Regions from separate parts of the Homo sapiens genome. Here all the other regions are linked to region 5. The links are contacts of gene promoters, found by promoter capture Hi-C in blood cells and fetal thymus (Javierre and others, 2016). All regions are on one chromosome and are shown on one strand. The core of a region is centred on a gene start or on the middle of the fragment in contact, and the rest is flanking DNA. Distances in the headings are between cores, read along the strand shown. Region 1 overlaps PTPN5 (protein tyrosine phosphatase non-receptor type 5). Region 2 overlaps PTPN5 (protein tyrosine phosphatase non-receptor type 5). Region 3 has its middle 15 kb from the start of PTPN5. Region 4 overlaps SPTY2D1 (SPT2 chromatin protein domain containing 1). Region 5 holds the start of SAAL1 (serum amyloid A like 1). Region 6 holds the start of PIK3C2A (phosphatidylinositol-4-phosphate 3-kinase catalytic subunit type 2 alpha).

The links. Contacts are between HindIII fragments. The CHiCAGO score rates a contact against its expected background, and 5 or more counts as called.
Region 1: a fragment that was not itself captured here is called in contact with the fragment with the promoter of SAAL1 in region 5 in 5 of 17 cell types (naive CD8 T cells, activated CD4 T cells, total CD4 T cells and 2 more); the score reaches 8.1 in naive CD8 T cells.
Region 2: a contact is called between a fragment that was not itself captured here and the fragment with the promoter of SAAL1 in region 5, in 10 of 17 cell types (naive CD4 T cells, total B cells, naive B cells and 7 more). The highest score is 13.6, in naive CD4 T cells.
Region 3: a contact is called between a fragment that was not itself captured here and the fragment with the promoter of SAAL1 in region 5, in 3 of 17 cell types (total CD4 T cells, non-activated CD4 T cells and total CD8 T cells). The highest score is 8.1, in total CD4 T cells.
Region 4: a contact is called between a fragment that was not itself captured here and the fragment with the promoter of SAAL1 in region 5, in 1 of 17 cell types (total B cells). The highest score is 7.8, in total B cells.
Region 6: a contact is called between the fragment with the promoter of PIK3C2A here and the fragment with the promoter of SAAL1 in region 5, in 5 of 17 cell types (total B cells, total CD8 T cells, fetal thymus and 2 more). The highest score is 15.8, in total B cells.

The regions. Positions count from the first base shown.
Region 1 is chr11:18,774,371-18,777,563 of GRCh38, forward strand. All of the region lies in intron 1 of PTPN5 (protein tyrosine phosphatase non-receptor type 5), which reads right to left. Among named protein-coding and RNA genes, the nearest start is that of PTPN5, 16 kb to the right of the region's middle. RefSeq lists an enhancer at 1,312-1,606. The HindIII fragment of the contact is 8,027 bases long and covers 1-3,193 here.
Region 2 is chr11:18,756,191-18,759,489 of GRCh38, forward strand. The region is part of intron 3 of PTPN5 (protein tyrosine phosphatase non-receptor type 5); the gene reads right to left. Among named protein-coding and RNA genes, the nearest start is that of IGSF22, 32 kb to the left of the region's middle. The HindIII fragment of the contact is 230 bases long and covers 1,659-1,888 here.
Region 3 is chr11:18,805,042-18,808,378 of GRCh38, forward strand. No RefSeq gene overlaps it. Among named protein-coding and RNA genes, the nearest start is that of PTPN5, 15 kb to the left of the region's middle. The HindIII fragment of the contact is 1,809 bases long and covers 471-2,279 here.
Region 4 is chr11:18,630,724-18,633,991 of GRCh38, forward strand. All of the region lies in intron 1 of SPTY2D1 (SPT2 chromatin protein domain containing 1), which reads right to left. Among named protein-coding and RNA genes, the nearest start is that of SPTY2D1, 2.0 kb to the right of the region's middle. RefSeq lists a silencer at 2,604-2,783. The HindIII fragment of the contact is 1,370 bases long and covers 945-2,314 here.
Region 5 is chr11:18,104,767-18,108,020 of GRCh38, forward strand. It overlaps SAAL1 (serum amyloid A like 1), which reads right to left and starts at 1,316. Exons shown (of 12, transcript NM_138421.3): 1 at 1,141-1,316. The coding sequence starts at 1,275. It also overlaps the pseudogene HIGD1AP5. RefSeq lists enhancers at 1,062-1,321, 1,472-1,521. The HindIII fragment of the contact is 5,763 bases long and covers 1-3,254 here.
Region 6 is chr11:17,206,118-17,209,248 of GRCh38, forward strand. PIK3C2A (phosphatidylinositol-4-phosphate 3-kinase catalytic subunit type 2 alpha) reads right to left here and starts at 1,869. Exons shown (of 33, transcript NM_002645.4): 1 at 1,731-1,869. RefSeq lists enhancers at 1,136-1,659, 1,660-2,182, 1,688-1,797 and silencers at 1,328-1,587, 1,938-2,017. The HindIII fragment of the contact is 7,601 bases long and covers 1,830-3,131 here.

The DNA.
Region 1 (3,193 bases), core at 398-2,897, 670 kb after region 5:
CAGCCTTTGGACAAGAGAGGCATCCCAGGACCATGTGCCCTCCCTCGCTGACAACAGAAAGGCGTTGCTGGGCCTGCAGGTGTCTGTGGTCTGGTCCAAAGGTCCAGTATGAACTGAATTTACCAGCTTCCCCCTGTACTCTGAGGAGGAGGGGGCTGGAGGGGGCTTGAGGAGCCCTCGTCCTGCCAAATTCCTAGATTGGGTGGGATGGGAGCAGGAAAAACACACACAGATTCTTTGCTGGCTTTGGCCACCCTGCTGGGACCAAAGTAGCAGGGGCTAGCTGCATAGGCAGCATTGAGAGAGACCAGGGGCTCATGATTGAAGCCAACACATTCTGTCCTAAATACATCTTTGGGGTGGAGGGTCAGAAATTCACAGTGATTCAGCTCAGACTCTGTGGACCCTCCCAGCCTCTTCTCAGGGCCACTTTGGCTTTCTTTTAAAATCTACACTTTTAAAATTTCATGGTCAGGTTGGTGAGGATGGAAGGGAACAGGAGGAGGTGATCTGAGAGAGAAAGGAAGCAGGAAAAAGGGCAGAAGCAATCTTCGGACCACCTGTTCAGTAACATCTTAGCTCCCGACCGAAGAGGATAACAATGACAGTATCTTCACAACAGAAAGGGCAGCTGTCACTACTGCACCCGGACCACACAGGCCAGGAACTGCTCCAGGGCAGGTGTTAGCAAACTCAGTCCTCACAGCAGCCCCTGGAGGAACGTACTAACGTTTCCTGCATTTTCTAAAGGCGGAAATGGAAATTCAGAGAAGTAAAGTGACCTGCCTAAGGCCACACAGCTAGTTATCACAGAACTTCCCCCATTGCCCACATTCCTAACCTCTCTTTCACTTTTTAGCTTTTGGTAAGAAAAAATATTCCGCAAATACAATAGGAAGAGACAGCATATCATGGCAGTTGCTTTCTATATGTTCTTTTAAAAAATCCTCACCATAAATCTATGTGAGTAGCATGTGATGATCACCATTTTTACAGACGAGAAAACTAAGGCTCAGGGGGTGAAGTGACCCAAGCAAACGAGTGAAGGAGCAAGAGGGAGATCCCTGTGCCTGTGTCCTTGCTTGGGATCACTGCTGTTCTCCCCAGAAGAACGACTGGAAGTCCTGCGCGGGACCACGACCTCGGGTTTCTCCACTTGAAGCAACAGCCCAGGAAGCAGGCCTTGGGAGGCTAGCTTGCATGGGGAGTTTGGGAGGCTGGCTTGGGTGGGGAGCCTGTGTTGGTGGCAGCTGTGTTCCATCAGTGCCATGACGAATACACTCACTGGCCCAGGGCCCAGAAGCCATGGGCTCTAGTCCCAGGCTACTGTGTGACCTTGGGCTAGTCATTTCCCTTATCTGAATCTCAGTAGCTCCAAATGAAAACCAAAGGGCCTGAATGAGATGACCTCTAAGGGCCTTTCCTTAGAGGTCAGGCTTCAATTCCAGGCCTGTCAGGTTTAACGAGGCAGAGGGTGGAACGGCAGTGAACCAGCAGAGGGCGCTCACAGCATCAGGGAAACAGGCCTTGGTCCATGGAGCCCAACCTGCAAGCATGTCCGGCCTGAGCCAATTATTAAGAGAGTCCAGGTTCAGCTGTGATTTGATGCTGTGGATGGTCCTACCTGATTATAAATGGTGCGGCGGTCACGGACCCAAAAGATAGAAAGGCAGGATTTTGGAGTTCAAAGGTTATCCGGTCTGATCCTCTGTTCTCCAAGACTCTGAAAACATTGCATTCTGCTCCCTCTCCCTGCACCTGCCCCCAGGTATGCAGTTTAATTTACCGGGAGAAAACAGGCAATCACAAATGCAAAGGTGTGATCACACTTCTTGTGGGCGTCTTCTGGTATTTCCGTTCAGTTACATGCTTGCTCCTACCTATAATGCTTTAGGATGCACTTTTTCCTCCACTGGAAAGCCCCCTTTTCCCTTCTCTGCTTGGAAAATTCTTATTTGCCTTTTAAGACTCTGTTCAAATGTCACCTCCTCAATAGAACCCTCCCCAACTCCCTTAGGAAGAACTGGGTACTCCGTCTTCTGTTCTTACCCCTCCATACGGTCATTATCTGTTGATGCCAGTCTCCCAGCCTCACACAGAGCTCCCTGGACATAAACCTGTGGTCTGTGATTACCGCAGCTTCCTTTTATTGCAGGCTTATTGTGTGCTGGATGTCGTGCCAAGCACTGCACACGTATGACATCATTCACCTCTCACTAGAACCATATGAGGTAAAAAGTCATCCTCCACCTACACGTGGAGATTGGGACTTGGAGACACTAAGTCACCTGCTCAAGGTCATATAGTTGGTATGTTGCAGAACCAGGCTTCAAACTCAGTTTATCTCAACCCCAGGCTTTATTTAAATCACTAGGTTTACAGCATCTGATATGGACTTTTCTGCTTCCCATGTCCAATACTGTATCTGGCACCAGGCAAATGTTAAAAAAAATGAAAAGTGGGGTAATGTTTGAGCATTTACAAATGGCTCATTAAAAACACCATAAAGGGCCAGGCACGGTGGCTCATGCCTGTAATCCCAGAACTTTGGGAGGCCGAGGTGGGCAGATCACCTGATGTAAGAAGTTTGAGACCAGCCTGACTAACATGGTGAAACCCTGTCTCTACTAAAAATACAAAATTAGCCGGGCGTGGTGGCGGGCGCCTGTAATCCCAGCTACTTGGGAGGCTGAGGCAGGAGAATCACTTGAACCAGAGAGGCGGAAGTTGCAGTGAGCCAAGATTGTGCCACAGCACTCCAGCCTGGGCGACAGAATGAGACTCCATCTCAAAACAAACAAACAAACAAACAACACCATAAAAGTAGTAAACACATAGGCTTTGGCTCTGGACTCCCCCAGTATGAATCAAGGCTCCCCCACTGGCTGCCTGATCTTGGGCAAGATTTTGACTTCTCTGTGCCTCAGTTTCTTCATCTGTGAAGCAAGGATAAATGTGTCTACACTCCAGAGGGTTATAATGGAGATTAAATGAATGTTGATCTTCACACAAAGTTTTTACATGAGATGCATGGAAAATGTGTAGATCAGGGCCAGGAAGCTCCTAAAAATGTTAACTGTCATCATCTTGTGTTTCAGGCTTTGCCTGTTTCCCAGTTAATATAACTTTTCTCCTCCCACGGATAAGGTCCATGAAGACTCTGGGATGAATCTTGCGGAGTGCTGGTAAACCG
Region 2 (3,299 bases), core at 524-3,023, 650 kb after region 5:
TTTAAAAGGCAACATTACCCCAGCTGACATCTGGCTTATGTCTGGTTCAGACAGCCTAGTTCCCTCTTTGCTGATAACTCTTCTTGGTCCCTTACATCCTTCACTTTTTTTTTTTTTTTTTTTTGAGACAGATTCTCACTCCGTCACCCAAGCTGGAGTGCAGTGGCATGATCTCTGCTCACTGTAACCTCTGCTTCCCGGGTTCAAGTGATTCTTGTGCCTTAGCCTCCTGAGTAGCTGGGATTACAGGCACAAGCCATCATGCCTGGCTAGTTTTTGTATTTTCAGTAGAGACAGGGTTTTACCATGTTGGCCAGGCTGGTCTTGAACTCCTGACCTCATGTGACCCACCCGTCTCAGCCTCCCAAAATGCTGGGATTATAGGCTGAGCCACTGCACCCAGCCCATCCTTCAGGTTTTAACCACTTGGAATTAAAAAGAAACAGCACCGGCCGGGCGCGGTGGCTCACGCCTGTAATCCCAGCACTTTGGGAGGCCGAGGCGGGCGGATCATGAGGTCAGGAGATCGAGACCACCCCGGCTAACACGGTGAAACCCCGTCTCTACTAAAAATAAAAAAAAAATTAGCCGGGTTTGGTGGCGTATGCCTGTAATCCCAGCTACTCGGGAGGCTGAGGCAGGAGAATTGCTTAAACCCGGGAGGTGGAGGCTGCAGTGAGCCAAGATCGTGCCACTGCACTCCAGCCTGAGTGACAGAGCAAGACTCCATCAAAAAAAAAAAAAAACCAAAAAACAAAAACAAAACAAAAAGAAACAGCACCAAGGTCCTAATAAACATCCCCACCTGTCCCACACATCATTTTCATATGTGTGTGTGTGAAATTCCAAAGTTTAGAGATGTAAAGTGATTCATGCAAGATCCAAGCTCAAAAAGGGCGGAGTCCAAATTCATTCACATCCAGGGCTTCTGAATCCGACAATAAGAAACCATAAAAAAATGAGCTGTGAATAAGACTTTATGGTTTACAAATCCCCATTCCCATCCATTGTCTCACTGAATTCTTATAACTACCATGAAAAAAATTGCTTTTCTCATTTCACAGTGGAAATGCCTCATGGGAGGGATGGAGCAGTGCAGGGTTTGTCCAAGCCCATCAGTGAAAGGCAATGCCCAATACAAGGGCAGACACACTCAGCACTGTCTTTACACCCAGGAAAATGTCCCTCATCCTGATCTCACACTTTGAAGGGCCCTGCTCCAATCCTCCATCAGGTATGCTCCTCCTCACAGGTAAGGAGTCCAGGGAACCAAAGGGACATTCTCCCTGTAAGGCCACATATTCAAAACCCCAGATTCCCTGGTCAAATGCTCCTCAGCCTGATTCCTGGACCTGGTGGCCCTCTTTTTTGACTGCTTCATGAGAGTACACTGTGCTGTGTGTATTCCTAGAACTGGCTAAGGTGACTGTTTGCAGAAGGTGTGTTTGGAGCTCAGATGTGTGGGCTGGGGTACCCATCTACCCAAGTGCTCATGAGTGTCCTTGTGGTGCTGGACAGAGCAGGGGTGGACTGGAGACTGGCTTTCCCTAGACCCCATATTTTGGTGCAGAACTCAGAATTCTCTATTTGAACCTGGCTTTTAAACTCCCTACAAATGAATATTCGTCAGAGTGGAAGGACAACATATTTCCTTTCAAAGCTTATCAGCTTGCTTTCGAACAGTTAGCTATCTAGACATAACATATACAGCCTTACAAATGTTAGGGGTGGGACTGCACACAGCTGTGCTCTTTGAAGTAGCAGGGAGGAGAGCCAAAGAAAAGAGAAGAGCAAAAGAGCCGAAGATTTAAGCAACAAAGGGTCAGTAGCTCAAATAGTGGAAGGTTGGGGAAAAGAATGAGACATGGGATGAAGGCCAAGGGGAGGAAGCTTTAGGAGAGGATGAAGCTAGTGTTAGGAGGAATGTGAAAGCTTATAAAGAGGATGTGCTGGTGGATGAAGGATGGCCACAGATTCTCTGCACTCCTCCTATCAAGAGGTGGCATTTACTTCCCATCCCTTGGATCTAGGCTGACCCTGTGACTGGCTTTGATCAACAAAATGTAGTGGAGTGACATTGTGTAACTTCTGGAGCTGGGCCTTAAGAGATCTGAAGCTTCTTTTTTGCCCCTCTTAGAGTGCTCCTTCTTGGTAATCACATAAGAAGTCCAACTACCATGAGACCATCATGCTGTGAGGAAGCCCAAGGTAGGAGCACTGAGGTGCCAGACATATAATAAAAGCTTTCTCCGACATTCTATCCCAGCACAGAATGAGGTGTGTTCAGCTGAATGAGTGACCTCAGCTGATGCCACATGGAATGGAAGAATCACCCAGCTAAACCCTGCATGACCCTCCAAGTCATGAGCAAATAAAATGGTTGTTGTTTGAAGCCACTAAGTGTTGAGATCGTCAGGCAGCAACAGACAACCAAAACAGATGCTGAGATCTGAAATGAAGAAATGAGCTTCAATGGAAGGATGAGTTTTTTTTTTTTTTCTTCAGATATAAAGAATTCCTGAGAGCTGGGGTGATTTGTCCCTGAGCCAGACCAAAGAGAAAGGTAATGGCATCTGTCACTGCATATGTTAGGAGTACGATGGATGTCCATTTGTCTAAAAGGGCATTGGCATCAACCTTTGAAGATGCAGGGGACTGGACCAGATGCATTCCTTCTTTCAGTTGCAAAGACTCTCTTTAAGTGTCATCACACATCCAGGCAACTCCCTAGAATATGAGAACTGTTTCTATCCTGGTGAAGGAAAACGGAGGATCATTCTCCCCACCAACCCTGGCCCCTTAAATATGTAAGCATAAAACACTCCTGCCTGTGGCTGTGCTGGTTCAGTGAGGTCTCAGACCTGTGGTGGGGAGTCAAGAAAGGACCACCAGATACACTACCCCACTCCACTGCTGTAGAACTGGCCTGGACCTGACGCCCGAGCCCCAGGCACAGGAACACAAAGAAAGAAAAAACACAAAGGAAAAAAAGGTTTTTTTTCTGTTCACATTCCATATCCTGGAACAACCATCACCGTCACTATTAGCTATCATTTATAGAGCACTCTGTAATAAGCACTTTACGTCCATGAACTCAATTAATCCTCACAAAATCTCTGTGAAGATGTCATCATATTACTACCCTTATTCTAGAGTGAGGAATTTGGAACTCACAGCAGTTAGATAATTTACCACAGGTCATGCTGTTGGTCAATAGCAGAGCTGGGATTTGAACCCAGCTGCCTGGCCATAGCACCCCAAGGCCTAGCTAGATGGGCTCCATCCTGGTGTCTGAGAAT
Region 3 (3,337 bases), core at 125-2,624, 700 kb after region 5:
GTACCGTATTCAAAAATTTTCATGTCAGAATTTCAGAAAGTCACATTAAATTACATTTGTAATAAATGATCATGCTATGCCTGGTTTAAAATCAAGATCACTTTTTCAATTAAGAGATATTGATTTGTGATAAATTGTTAACTGAACCATAGACTTGTAATATTGGCAGGAACCTCAAAATTTCATTTTGCATATCCCACCCACAAGTTCATATACGGGTATGTCTAAACCATCCAATACAACTGAGTTGTCTAAACCAATGGGTTCCAAAACTTCCATCATCAGAAATATTATAACTTAAATAAAAGAGGAGACTCCTAAGTCAGACTTCTGGAATTTTGGTTAAGGAGATCTAGGACAGGACCTGGGAAATGGCATTTTAAAAACTGTACCATGTGATTTCAGTCACAGGGAGGATTGGGAATCCCTGGTCCAGAACATAACTTTCAAATGATCATTACTTCAATTTAAGCTTCACTTAAACTTTGTGCCCATGTTGAAATTGAGATCACTTTTGTAATTTCAGGCCACGTTCTCCAGAAGCAGAATCTGAGGTGGGGATTCATGTGCATGTGATTTACTAAGGAGTGCTCTCAGGGGAAGCCTGTAAGGGAATGGGGAAAGGAGGACAGGGAAGGGGAAGAATCAGGAACACATTCTATGATTTAATGATTTGAAAATGAAACAAACATTTTATTAAATACAGAAATGATGGTATGGTGGAAAAAACATGGGCTTCAGAATTAGATAGACCTGACATTAAAAAATTTAAATTATTAATACTATGTTAGATTGACAAACCATAATTGTATACATTTATGATGTAAAATGTGAAGTTTTAATATAGGTATACAATGTGGCATTAATAAATTAAGCTAATTAACATATCAATCACCTTTCTTGCCTATCATTTTTTAAGGTGAGACATTTGAAATGTACTTATTATGAAATATATTATATAATACATTGTTATTGATTATAGTCAGCCTTCTGTGCAATAGATCTCAAAATCCTTTCCTCTTATGTAATCTGGGTCTTGGTACTCTTTCATCAGCAACTGTTCATTTCCTCCCTCCCCTCTTCCTCAGCATCTGGTAACCATTATTCTACTGTCTACTTCTATGAATTCACATATTTACATTTCACTTATAAGGAAATCGTGAGGTATTTGTCTTTCTGTGCCTGGCTTTTTCACTTACCACAATGTCTTCCAGATTAATCCATGTTGTTGCAAATGACAATATTTCCCCCATTTTAAAGGCTGAATAGTAGTCCATTGAATATGTACACCATATTTCTCTTTATCTGTTGATGGAAACTTAGATCGTTCTCCTACCTTAGCCATTGTGAATAATGCTACAATGAATGTGAGAGTGGAGATACCCCTTCAACATACTGATTTCAGTTTCTTTTTTTGAGACGGAGTCCTGCTCTGTCACCCAGCTTGGAGTGCAGTGGAGCAATCTCAGCTCACTGCAACCTCTGACTCCTGGGTTCAAGTGATTCTTTTCCCTCAGCCTCCCGAGTAGCTGGGCTTACAGGCACCCACCACCACACCAGGCTAATTTTTTTGTATATTTAGTAGAGACAGGGTTTCGCCGTATTGGCCAGGCTGGTCTCGAGCACCTGACCTCAGGTGATCTGGCCACCTCAGCCTCCCAAAGTGTAATTTCAGCTTCTTATTAATATATACCCAGAAAGGAGATTACCGAGTCCTATAGTATTTCTATTTGTAATACTTGGAGAAAACTCCATACTGTTTTTCATAACAGCTGTACTAATTTACATTCCCATCAACAGTATATAAGAGTTCCATTTTTCTCTGAATCCTCTCTAACACTTGATATCTTATCTCTTTGATAAAAGCCATTCTAACAGGTATGGGGGATAGTTCATTGTGGCTTTAATTTGCATTTGCCTAATGATTAGTGATACTGACCTTTTTTCATGTACCTATTGGTCACTCACATGTCTTTTTTTTTTTTTTTTTTTGAGAAATATCTGTTCAGGCGCTTTGCCCATTTAAAAATTGGGTTATTTATTTTTTTTCTTGCTCTTGAATTGAGTTCCTTACATATTTTATAAATTAACCCCTTATCAGATGTATGGTTTGCAAATATTTCTCCCATTCTATGGGTTGTCTCTTCCTTTTGTTAATTGTTTCCTTTGCTATGCAGAAGTTTTTTACTTTGATGCCATCTCATTTGCCTATTTTTCTTTTTGTTTCTTGTGCTCTTGGGATCCTATCCAAGAAATCCTTGCCCAGAAAATTGTCATGAAGCTTTCCCCCTACGTTTTCTTCTAGTAGCTTTTCAGTTTCAGCTTTATAGTTAAGTCTTTTGCCCATTTTGAGTTGATTTTTGTGTATGGTGTAAGATAAAGGTCTAATTTCTTTCTTCTGTGTGTGGATGTGCAGTTTTTCTAATACCATTTATTGAAGAGATGTTCTTTCCCCATTGTGTATTCTTGGCATGCTTGTCAAAAATCAGTTGACTGTAAATGCAAGGGTTATTTCTGGGTTTTCTAGCCTGTCCTACTGGTCAGTGTGTCTGTTGTATGCCAGTACAATGCTGTTTTGATTGCATTGCTTTACATGTTTCGAAATCAGAAAGTGTGATGCCTCCAGCCTTGTTCTTTTTTTTTAATTAATTAATTTATTTTTTTTGAGATGGAGTCTCACTCTGTCGCCCAGGCTGGAGTGCAGTGGCGCAATCTTGGCTCACTGCAACCTTTGCCTCCCTGCAACCTTTGCCTCCCAGGTTCAAGTGATTCTCCTGCCTCAGCCTCCCAAGTATCTGAGACTACAGGCATGCACCACCACACCTGGCTAATTTTTGTATTTTTAGTAGAGACAGGGTTTCACCATGTTGGCCAGGCTGGTCTTGAACTCCTGACCTCGTGATCTGCCTGCCTTGGCCTCCCAAAGTGCTGGGATTACAGGCATGAGCCACTGCACCTGGCCCAGCCTTGTTCTTTTTGCTCAAGATTGTTTTGGCTATTTGGGGTCTTTTGTGGTTCCATACAAACTTAAGGATTTTTTTCCATTTTGTAAAAAATGACACTGGGGCTGGGCGCAGTGGCTCACGCCTGTAATCCCAGCACTTTGGGAGGCCGAGGTAGGCAGACCACGAGGTCAGGAGTTGGAGACCAGCCTGGCCAATATGGTGAAACCCTGTCTCTACCAAAAAAAACAAAAATTAGTCGGGCGTGGTGGTGCGTGCCTGTAATCCCAGCTACTTGGGAGGCTGAGGCAGGAAAATCGCTGGAACCCAGGAGGCGGAGGTTGTAGTGGGCTGAGATTGTGCCACTGCACTCCAGCCTGGGCAACAGAGCGAGA
Region 4 (3,268 bases), core at 380-2,879, 530 kb after region 5:
AAGCCTCTGTGGTTCTCAGATCAATTAATCAAGTAAATTTATAACAGCAGGGTGTGTATAGGGCAGGGAGGGATGTAGCTGTCTTTTTTTATTTTATTTTATTTTTCTTTTCATTTGAGACAGAGTCTCGCTCTGTCACCCCGGCTGGAGTGCAGTGGCACGATCTCCACTCACTGCAACCTCTGTCTTACTGCAACCTCCGCCTCTCAAGTTCAAGCCATTCTCCTGCCTCAGCCTCCTGAGTAGCTGAGATTACAGGTGTGCCCCACCATGCCTGGCTAATTTTTGCATTTTTAGTAGAGACGGGGTTTCACCACATTGGCCAGGCTGGTCTCAAACTCCTGATCTCAGGTGATCTGCCCACCTTGGCCTCCCAAAGTGCTGGGATTAAAGGTGTGAGCCACAGCACCCAGCCAGAAATAAAGCTGTTAATTGATACGATAGTCCCCAACTCTCTCTTTGTTTTTAATAATTGTGAAAATCATAGACATAGTGTACAGGGTAACAGATTATTAGAAAGCAAGTATCCTTTTAAGCTACCATCGAAGTCAAGAAACATTTCAAGACAGGCCTGGCTCAGTGGTTCACACCTGTACTCACAGCAGTCTGGGAGGCTGAGGTGGGCTGATCACTTGAGGCCAGGAGTTTGATACCAGCCCTATCTCTACTAAAAATACAAAAAAATTAACTGGGCGTGGTGGTGCACCCCTGTATTCCCAGCTACTCAGGAGGCTGAGGCAGGAGAATGGCTTGAACCTGCGAGGCGGAGCTTGCAGTGAGCCAAGATTTCGCCACTGCACTCCAGCCTGGGCAACAGAGACTCCATCTCAAAAAAAAGAAAAGAAAAGAAAAAGCTTTATTTCTTTTAAAATAGATAACAAAAAAAAAAAAAAAACCACCAAACACTTTATTTCTTTTAAAATAGATGGCAAAAAAAGAAAAAAAGCTTTATTTCTTTTAAAATAGATGGAATAAATATGGGGAAATGTTAATATGCTAAATACGGGGTTTGGGTATATTAGAAATGTGTTAACATTCCTTATGTTTGAAAGTGTCCAAATTACTTTAAGCTGATAAGGAAAAAGTAAATAGAACAGTTAGATGAATCAAGTTAAAGCAAATCAAGTAAAGCATGAAATTTGGCCGGGTGTGGTGGCTCACACCTGTAATTTCAGCACTTTGGGAAGCCGAGGTGGGCGAATGACTTGAGGAAGGAGTTCAAGACCAGCCTGGCCAACATGGTGAAACCCTGTCTCTACCAAAAATACAAAAGTTAGCTTGATGTGGTGACAGGTGCCTGTAGTCCCAGTTACTCAAGAGGCTGAGACAGGAGAATTGCTTGAACTCAGCAGGTGGAGGCTGCAGTGAGCCGAGACCATGCCACTGCACTCCAGCCTCCAGCCCGGACGACAGAGTGAGACTCTATCTTAAAAAAAAAAAAAAAGAAGAAGAAGAAATTTAACTACAGTCTTATCCTATTCCTCAATAGTTTCTTTTGTGACTTTAATTCCACATAAAAAGATAAGAATTATAATGCTGGTAACTAAATCAAACTTCTAGGCTTACTAGCTTTGGCGGGGAGAGGTCAGAGAATGCATGATTCATAAAATATATGGCTATATTATCTATTGATTTTTTTTTTTTTGAAATGAAGTTTTTCTCTTGTTGCCCAGGCTGGAGTGCAATCGCACGATCTCAGCTCACTGCAATCTCCGCCTCCTGGGTTCAAGCAATTCTGTCTCAGCCTCCCAAGTAGCTGGGATTACAGGCGCACACCACCATGCCCGGCTAATTTTTGTATTTTTAGTAGAGATGGGGTTTCATCATATTTGTCAGGCTGGTCTCAAACTCCTGACTTCAGGTGATTCTCCCGCCTAGGCCTCCCAAAGTGCTGGGATTACAGGCCTGAGCCATTGCGCCCATCTATTAAATTTTAAATTACTTTTTTCCCCTTTTTGATTCTTCTGTTATTCCAATCATAGATAATGCATATATTATGACATATACACATATTTTGAAATTTTCTGCTTTAGGATTATCTGTCTGCTTTTCTCCCAGCAGCTACTGGCTTTCAGAATAAGAAATGACTTAGTTCTGATTCTTCCACAGAACAGTACTGGGCATCAAAGCTAGTACTATCTTTGACCTTTACTGAAATTCAATAAGATCTAGAATGAAATACAGACCAAATTATGCAAAGATGAATGGTTACTAGACCCAATATTGATTCATCTGGAAAATTTACAGATGCTTCTAGAAAGTAAATCTGTTGATCTGGGTTTCAAAGGTTTGAGTCTATACCTTCAACATGCAAAGCTTATGACTCACGGCTTAGAGGAATGGTTATTCAGAGTTCTTGGGATAAGGGATGGCTGTGTGTGTGTATATATACATATATTTATAAACATAAATATAGACCTTTTTCAGATCAATATTTTCAAAGGGATAAAAGAATGAACTAGCCTCAGAAGACAAAAAAAAGCTGCAGAAGAGAAAAAAACGAATATTGCAATATACGAATATCTAGGAAATGCAGAGCACTTCGTCGGAGCTCAATAAATTCTAGCTGAATTGACTTTGAGAGCCGTTTTAGTTCTATACCTCACTGCTCAAACCGCAGGCATCACCATGCAACTTATCGGTTTACAGCTGTGCTGTGGGTACCATCTGAAAATCTGGAAATGATTAGCTTATGCAAAACAGCCATAACCCCCAGAAACCAGGCGCTCTCCACCACTTTACCATTTAAGTCTTACACCGCTCTTGCGACTGTAAGCGAACTGACAAACATCTACTGACCAAATGGGACCTAGATTTTAAACAAAGACTGAAATCTGGAAGGCTACAAGTAAACAGAAGCTGAAACTAGCTCACCTATTCTGTTGGCCAAGGATTTCGTGGAATCTGCTAAACTTCTCTTCCCAAAAGATGATACCTATCCCCTGGGAGGTGATAATTTAATCACCTCGGTGGCTGAGTGGGTGGGGCCGAGTCAGAGAATTCTTTCAAGAAATCGCTAAACGTTTGACTTGAAGATCGATGAGAAGCCAGCCAAAAAGCTATCAAGCCAAGGACCCCAAACCCCCTAACTCCCTTACATACATATTTCCTTCCCAATCTCTAGGCTGAAGTTTATGTGGAAGCCAAAAACTACCAGCGCTAGAATCCACAGCGTGCCAGGCACAGCTCACTCACGGCTTTCACGCAATTCTAGCTACAACACCCAAACCGCAAAGTCCCTGTTGCAGGGGTAAATAAGCCGGCGAAA
Region 5 (3,254 bases), core at 66-2,565:
TATCATGAGAAGATGAGGCTGGAAAATGTACAAACAGCCCTGGATTCCAAACTTCAAGAAACATGCATTTTTCTCCCAGGCAAAAAGAACTAAGAGCAGTATCATGAATAGCCCTGTCTTTAAAGAAGATTATTCTGGCAGCTGTGTAGAAAATTGACTGGAGAGGATAGACAATAGGAGGAGAGGAACCAATTAGGGAAACATGGGGGGAAGAAAACACATTTACTGACAGCCTCCTATAAGCCAAACACCATGCTAAGCACTCTGTTGCCATTATAATCTCACTTAACCTACACAATAACCTTATATATAATATAAATATTATAATCCCATTTTATAGAAATTAAGGGACAAATAGAGGTTCTGAGCCGTTAGGTGACCTGCAGCTAGTGGGTAAGGAAGCTGCGTTTTTTGTTTTTTTGAGACAGGGTCTTACTCCGTCCCCCAGCCTGGAGTGCAGAAGCTGGATCATAGCTCACTGCAGCCTCCAACTTCAGGCTCAAGCGATCCTCCAGCCTCAGCCTCCTGAGTCGCTGGGACTACAGGCGTGCACCGTCACGACCGGCTTTTTTTTTTTTTTTTTTTTAAGTTTGTAGAAACCAGGTCTATGTTGCCCAGGCTGGTCTCAAACTCCTGGCTCAAGCGATCCTTCCGCCTCGGCCTCCCAAAGTGTTGGGATTACAGAGGTGAGCCACCGCGCCTGGTCAGAAGCCACGTTTTTAATATAAAAGTTGTATAACCCTAAAGTCACCATTTATTCTATTACAACGATAGTCCATGAAATACATAAATTAAGGACCTGGGCTTCAGAAATGACAGTGGGGATGGGGAGCAAAACCCGAGGAATGCAGTTACACGATCATGTATTTTTGGAGAACTTGGGAAAGCAAAATAGAACGGCAAGTATTTCAGCATCCCTACCATTATACTTCCCTTTGTGTCGAGAGACCCCGAGGGGGCCCAGATAGTTTTGGGGTCCGCAGCGGCCGGCGAAACGCAAGGAGCAAGGTCCCGCAGCGCACGCCTGGGGAGGGGTCTTTGTGGGGATGGCGGCTCCCGGGGCAGGAGGATTCGCCAGAGGCGGAGCCCCGGTGCCTGGGGGATGTAGGGACACCCCACGCGTGGCGCGAGTTTCCACACCTGGATGAGTCCGCTGAGGACGCCGAAGAGCCAGTGTTTGCTGTAGACCGTGCTCCCTATGCAGTCTCCACCGGCCACCTCCTCCTCCTCCTCCTTGTCGCGACCCGGCGGCGGCGGCGAGGGGTTGCGGTCCATGACTTTGTCGCGTCCCGCGCTTGAAGGCCGTGCCGGAAGCTGCGGAGGAGACGACCGGCGCCCTAGTGCCAGAGCGCCCGGCGTACCCGGTGGGACTCCCCCTACAGCGCCATCTGCTGTTCGGAGCCTGGCCAGCTGCCAAGGCGGCTTGACCTCCCCCACCCCATCCTATCGAGGACCCTGGCACGAACATACTCATAATTATTTGTCACCCTCACTGAATCAGGTGTTCCATTTCTCCAGGAGCTCTTAGACTGATTGAAGAAGGAAGGGTGGGGAGCAGTGAGGAAGCCTCAGGAACAGATGTGAATCTCAAAGCTAGCGGACTTATTCTATTCGCCTTCTGATCTATGTTGCCCAGGCTGGTCTCGAACTTCTGGCTCAAGCAATCCTTCTGCCTCGGCCTCCCAAAGTGTTGGGATTACAAACGTGAGCCACCGCGCCTGGTCAGAAGCCACTTTTTTTATATAAAAGTTGTATAACCCTAATAATATAATCCTCTGATCTCTGGCCACTGTTGCCATTCCTAAAAATATCCGTAGGGGAAGCTGGATGGCTTGTGAGGGATTCCAGGGATCCAAAGTGATTCGAAAAACTAAAGAGGCACCATTTGTCCCCATTGGAATGGCAGGTTTTGCAGTAGTTGCTGCATACGGATTATACAAATTGAAAAGCAGGGGAAATACTAAAATATCACGTCACCTGATCCACATGCGTGTGGCAGTCCAGCTTTGTTGTAGGAGCAATGACTGTTGGTATGGGCTATTCCATGTATCCGGATTTCTATGCAAAACTTAAACCTTAGAAGAAGAGATGTTGTCTTTGTCTTGTTGGAGGAGCTTGACTCATTAATGAGTCATCTCATTATTGAAGTTACATGTTTATGTTGAACATAAATTATTTGGGTAGGTTCAGATGATACTACGGTATTTTGAATAGTCGCTTCCTTTCGTGTAGGCTTGATTTGCCTGGTGACCAAATTATTAGTGACTAGTTCACTAACTAGATCATTCCGGGGAGCCAAGTTAACACACAAGAAACACGTCACCTAAATGCGCTTGATGGTGTTAAAATGTCCAACTTCTTAAACTGTTAAGATGAAATTAATACTAAGGAAGATAGCAGGCCAATCCTGAAGTACTCCCAGTTTGCTGCAGAATCTTGCATGTTTCGAATGTTAAGAGTCCAATTTACTCCAGTTAATTTAACTTTTTTTCTGTCTGTCTTGTGGACTGGTTGGCTCTTTTAGAACTCTTTAAAAAAAAGTGCATGAAATATAACTTGTAAAGCCTCCTACAACTGACAGTATTGTGTGCGTGTGTTTAAACCGAATCTAGAAACCTTACAACAGACCTGCATAGTATTAGTATTGATTAAAGAACCACAATTGTAAACATGAGAAAACCTTAATTATGGATTTCAGTTTAGCACTTTTGTAATTGCAGAATTACATTTTTGCTGCTGTTATATTAGAAGAATTTTTCAGTGTCATCTTGAAATAGAAATGTGTATTTTAAGCACCCATGCAAAGGTAAATGAAAAACACTTCTTTCTCCATAAGAATCGTAAACATTAAACTAAAAAAATTACCTATGATGGAATTGATTTACAAGTACCCACTTTGATTTAATGGAATTAAATTTATAGATGATATAAGCTACTTCCACATGAAATTTCAAAAATATCAATATAATGACCAAACAGGAATGGAGACATGAAATTATTTATTTATTTATTTATTTTATTTATTTTGAGACGGAGTCTCGCTGTCGCCCAGGCTGGAGTGCAGTGGCGCGATCTCGGCTCACTGCAGGCTCCGCCCCTTGGGGTTCCCGTCATTCTCCTGCCTCAGCCTTCAGAGTAGCTGGGACTACAGGCTCCCGCCACCTCGCCCGGCTAATTTTTTTTTTGTATTTTTAGTAGGGACGGGGTTTCACCGTGTTAGCCAGGATGGTCTCGATCTCCTGACCTCGTGATCC
Region 6 (3,131 bases), core at 619-3,118, 900 kb before region 5:
AGAAAAAAATTGTAAAACCTGTGATGAAAACATTAAAACATGTTATTTGCAAAGAAAACTGCAGGAAACACGCATATAAAACACAAATAGCAAGACACTTTGATAAGAAAAAACCTACTTTAGAATGTATTAATTCAGCCAAAATTACGGAATTTATGGAAGAAACTCCATATGTGCTTTCTACCTACGTAAAATCACTTTTGAACTAAATCTGAGTTAACAAATAAAATCTCTCTATTCCCAGTTACATTGTTTTTCAGTATGTAACCACTGTCTTGATACTAAACAAATATCTTATATAAAAATAAAATCTGTATACTTCAACTAGGGTCCTTTCGTCTAATTTGCTGCTGTGAATAAGAGCACCATCCTGTCCAGATAAGGTTAGATCAAATTTAAAAAAAAAAAAAGCACCATTCTGCTGGGCATGGTAGACCAGCCTGGGCGACACAGTGAGACCCCATGTCAATTAAAAAAAAAAAAAAGAGCACCAACCCCAACTATGGCAGAGCTGCTAAAGGAGTCTCTTGTGGAGACTTGAACCACAAGCCAAGGAGGCAAAGGTACAAAGTCTCTCCTGGAATTAGTTCCTGGACTTCTGTGCAGCCTTCCCTCTTTCTACTATGTCTTCACCGTTCCCCTACAAACAGCTTTCTTCTTCTTGCATCTCTTATATGCTGTGGCCTTTGATGCTACAATAGATTTAAAAATTTTCCCAACAGAGCTTTTCTGCCTGAAACCCACCAGGAAAGATTTCAGGACATTCTTTAATAACTAATCTTGTTCAAAGAGGCAGGCCTCCTTCGTTTCACTTAATTCAAACCCCCACTGTTCAAAATAAGAATATAATTATAACCTCAATTTCTATCGGGCCAGTATAGGAAAAGAACTACAACAGGCTCTCTCTTCCACGTTATGTCCAGACTTTTTTCCTTAGTTTCTCCTTCCTCATTTCCCTCCTCAATCCCTCCTCCCCCAAAAAATAATTCCACAGCTAGAGAATGTCGTTTTTAAAGCCAGAAATTCAGTGAGGAAAATAAGTATGTGCCTTTTTCTTCAATTATTTATGATTCCTCCGTCACTCAGGAAGAGTTAAGCTAGTATTTTTTAATCTGACCGCTCTCTCAGAAGGATGATGCGCTAAATACACACTGAAAGAATAGTGTTCCCAAAGCAAGTGGATTCGCGGCTAAAGGCAACGCGGTGGGAGTGGGGGGTCCGGGAAGAAGAAAAAGTATCCTTGGCCCCCAGAGCCAGAGATGGGACAGGAGGTGAAAGAAGGGGCCGTCACTGAGAAGTACAACACACACACTCGCCAGAACTAACAATCTGCCAAGAAAATAGGACCGGCCACTGCGGCTCCAGCCCGGTCCCGCGGGACAAGGCGGGGGAGGGGGGCCGGCGGCCGGGGGGCCTGCCCTCCTTCTGTGGGACAAAACTAACTCCCTGGCGCACCTCCGCTCCCGAGAAGAGGGGCCTGGTGGGGACGCGGGCTCCTCGCACCTCCAGCGCAGCACTTGCTCACGGCCTGGGTGGAAGCAAGGCCCGGAGGGAGGGGGGAGTCGGGCTGGGCAACGCCAAGAGCACGGGATGGAGGGTCAGACGCGGGCACCCAAGGCACTGGGGGCCGCGACAAGAGACCCTTCCAGCCCGGGAACCCCGGGGCCCCTCTCCACCCTTGCAGAGCAGGACCCCGAATATCGTCCCCAGCCGCACCGACCGCTCCTCACCTCAAGCTGCCTGAGCCTCCGCCTCTACCACAACCTGAGCCGCCGAAGCCGCCACAGTCCGAGCCATTTTTCCCCTCAGCTGGCTCAGCCGCCGCCGAAAGCTTCGGCCGACTCCACAGCCAGCCAAGCGCAGCACGTCACTTCCGGACAGGGAAGCACCGCCTTCCCCGCCCGGACTTGTTGCGAATTGGCTGGCGCGGACGGCCTACCTGAGCTGGCGGGCGGGGCTTGGACGCTGCCGGGGTGGCGTGAGCAAGGGAGCTGGGGCGCTGGGGCGCACGGGCCCGGGGGACCAGGGTCTGGCTCTCTCCCGAGGAATGCTGAGCAGGCTCTGGACGCCTCTCCGTGCACACCCCAGACCTGGGGAGGGGAGCTCTCCGGACACCCCAGCTGGCCGCCCCTCGGGCCCTGAGTCCGAAGACCCGCTAAACAGGGCCCGGGCACTGAAGTACCCTATTGTTCTCATCCCCTCTCCCGGGACCCCGCACCCTCCTCCATCTAGGCTGAGGTTCCCAGATTTGTGTCTTGGCCCCTGGCGGCGCCGAGATTACTTTGTGATTGGAAGACTGAAAGGAACAGGCAAGACTTAAACTCGTCCACTCCAACCAGTATTTACCGAGGCCTCACGGTGGGTCAGGTGGTATACGGTGGGTAATTAGTAGCCTATCACGTGGTTTCTGTAAAATGCTTGATAGCACGTAAAACGCTTTCAGGTCGGCGTCTCGTTTCATCCTCACAACAGCCAGGTAAGGAAGATAACCCCCTGATAATAACTCACAGCCAGACGGCTCTTTCTACATTACAAAGTATTTTCACATGCAACCTCCATAATAATATATTCTTATTGAGAATTTAATGAGATTATGCTTGTAAAGCGTTTGGTCCTCACGTGTTAGATCTAAAAATTACGTAACCATGGGAAGATATAGGAAAATTATCCCCATTTACAGATGGGGCTTCTGGGGCACAAAGATGTTAAGGGGAGAGGAACGATTCCATAGCGTTTTACAACAAGATTGTCTTTTAAGCAGTAGGAGAAGGGGGTCCACACCATCCAGACGTTCACAATCTGATGTGGCAGACTGATTTAGGCTGCATTTCTCAGCCTAAACTAAAAATTATCAGCCTATATGATATACGCATAATTAGAAGGCTCTAAGAGAAGTTGAACTTTCAGCAAATAACTGGAAAGAAAGAAATTGGCCTGATTTGGCAGGGACGGGGGTTGGCGAAAGGGGGCTAGGGCAATGGGGAATGTGGAGTGGATGAATCCCTCATAGCGCTGTAATAAACATGCCTGCACCTCCGCAGGGATGGTAAAATTGGATGGAGTTTCTATTCTATGGGGAATTCTAGAAACAAATGTGATTATTTCTTACGGCTGTAGCTACTGGCTGTTGT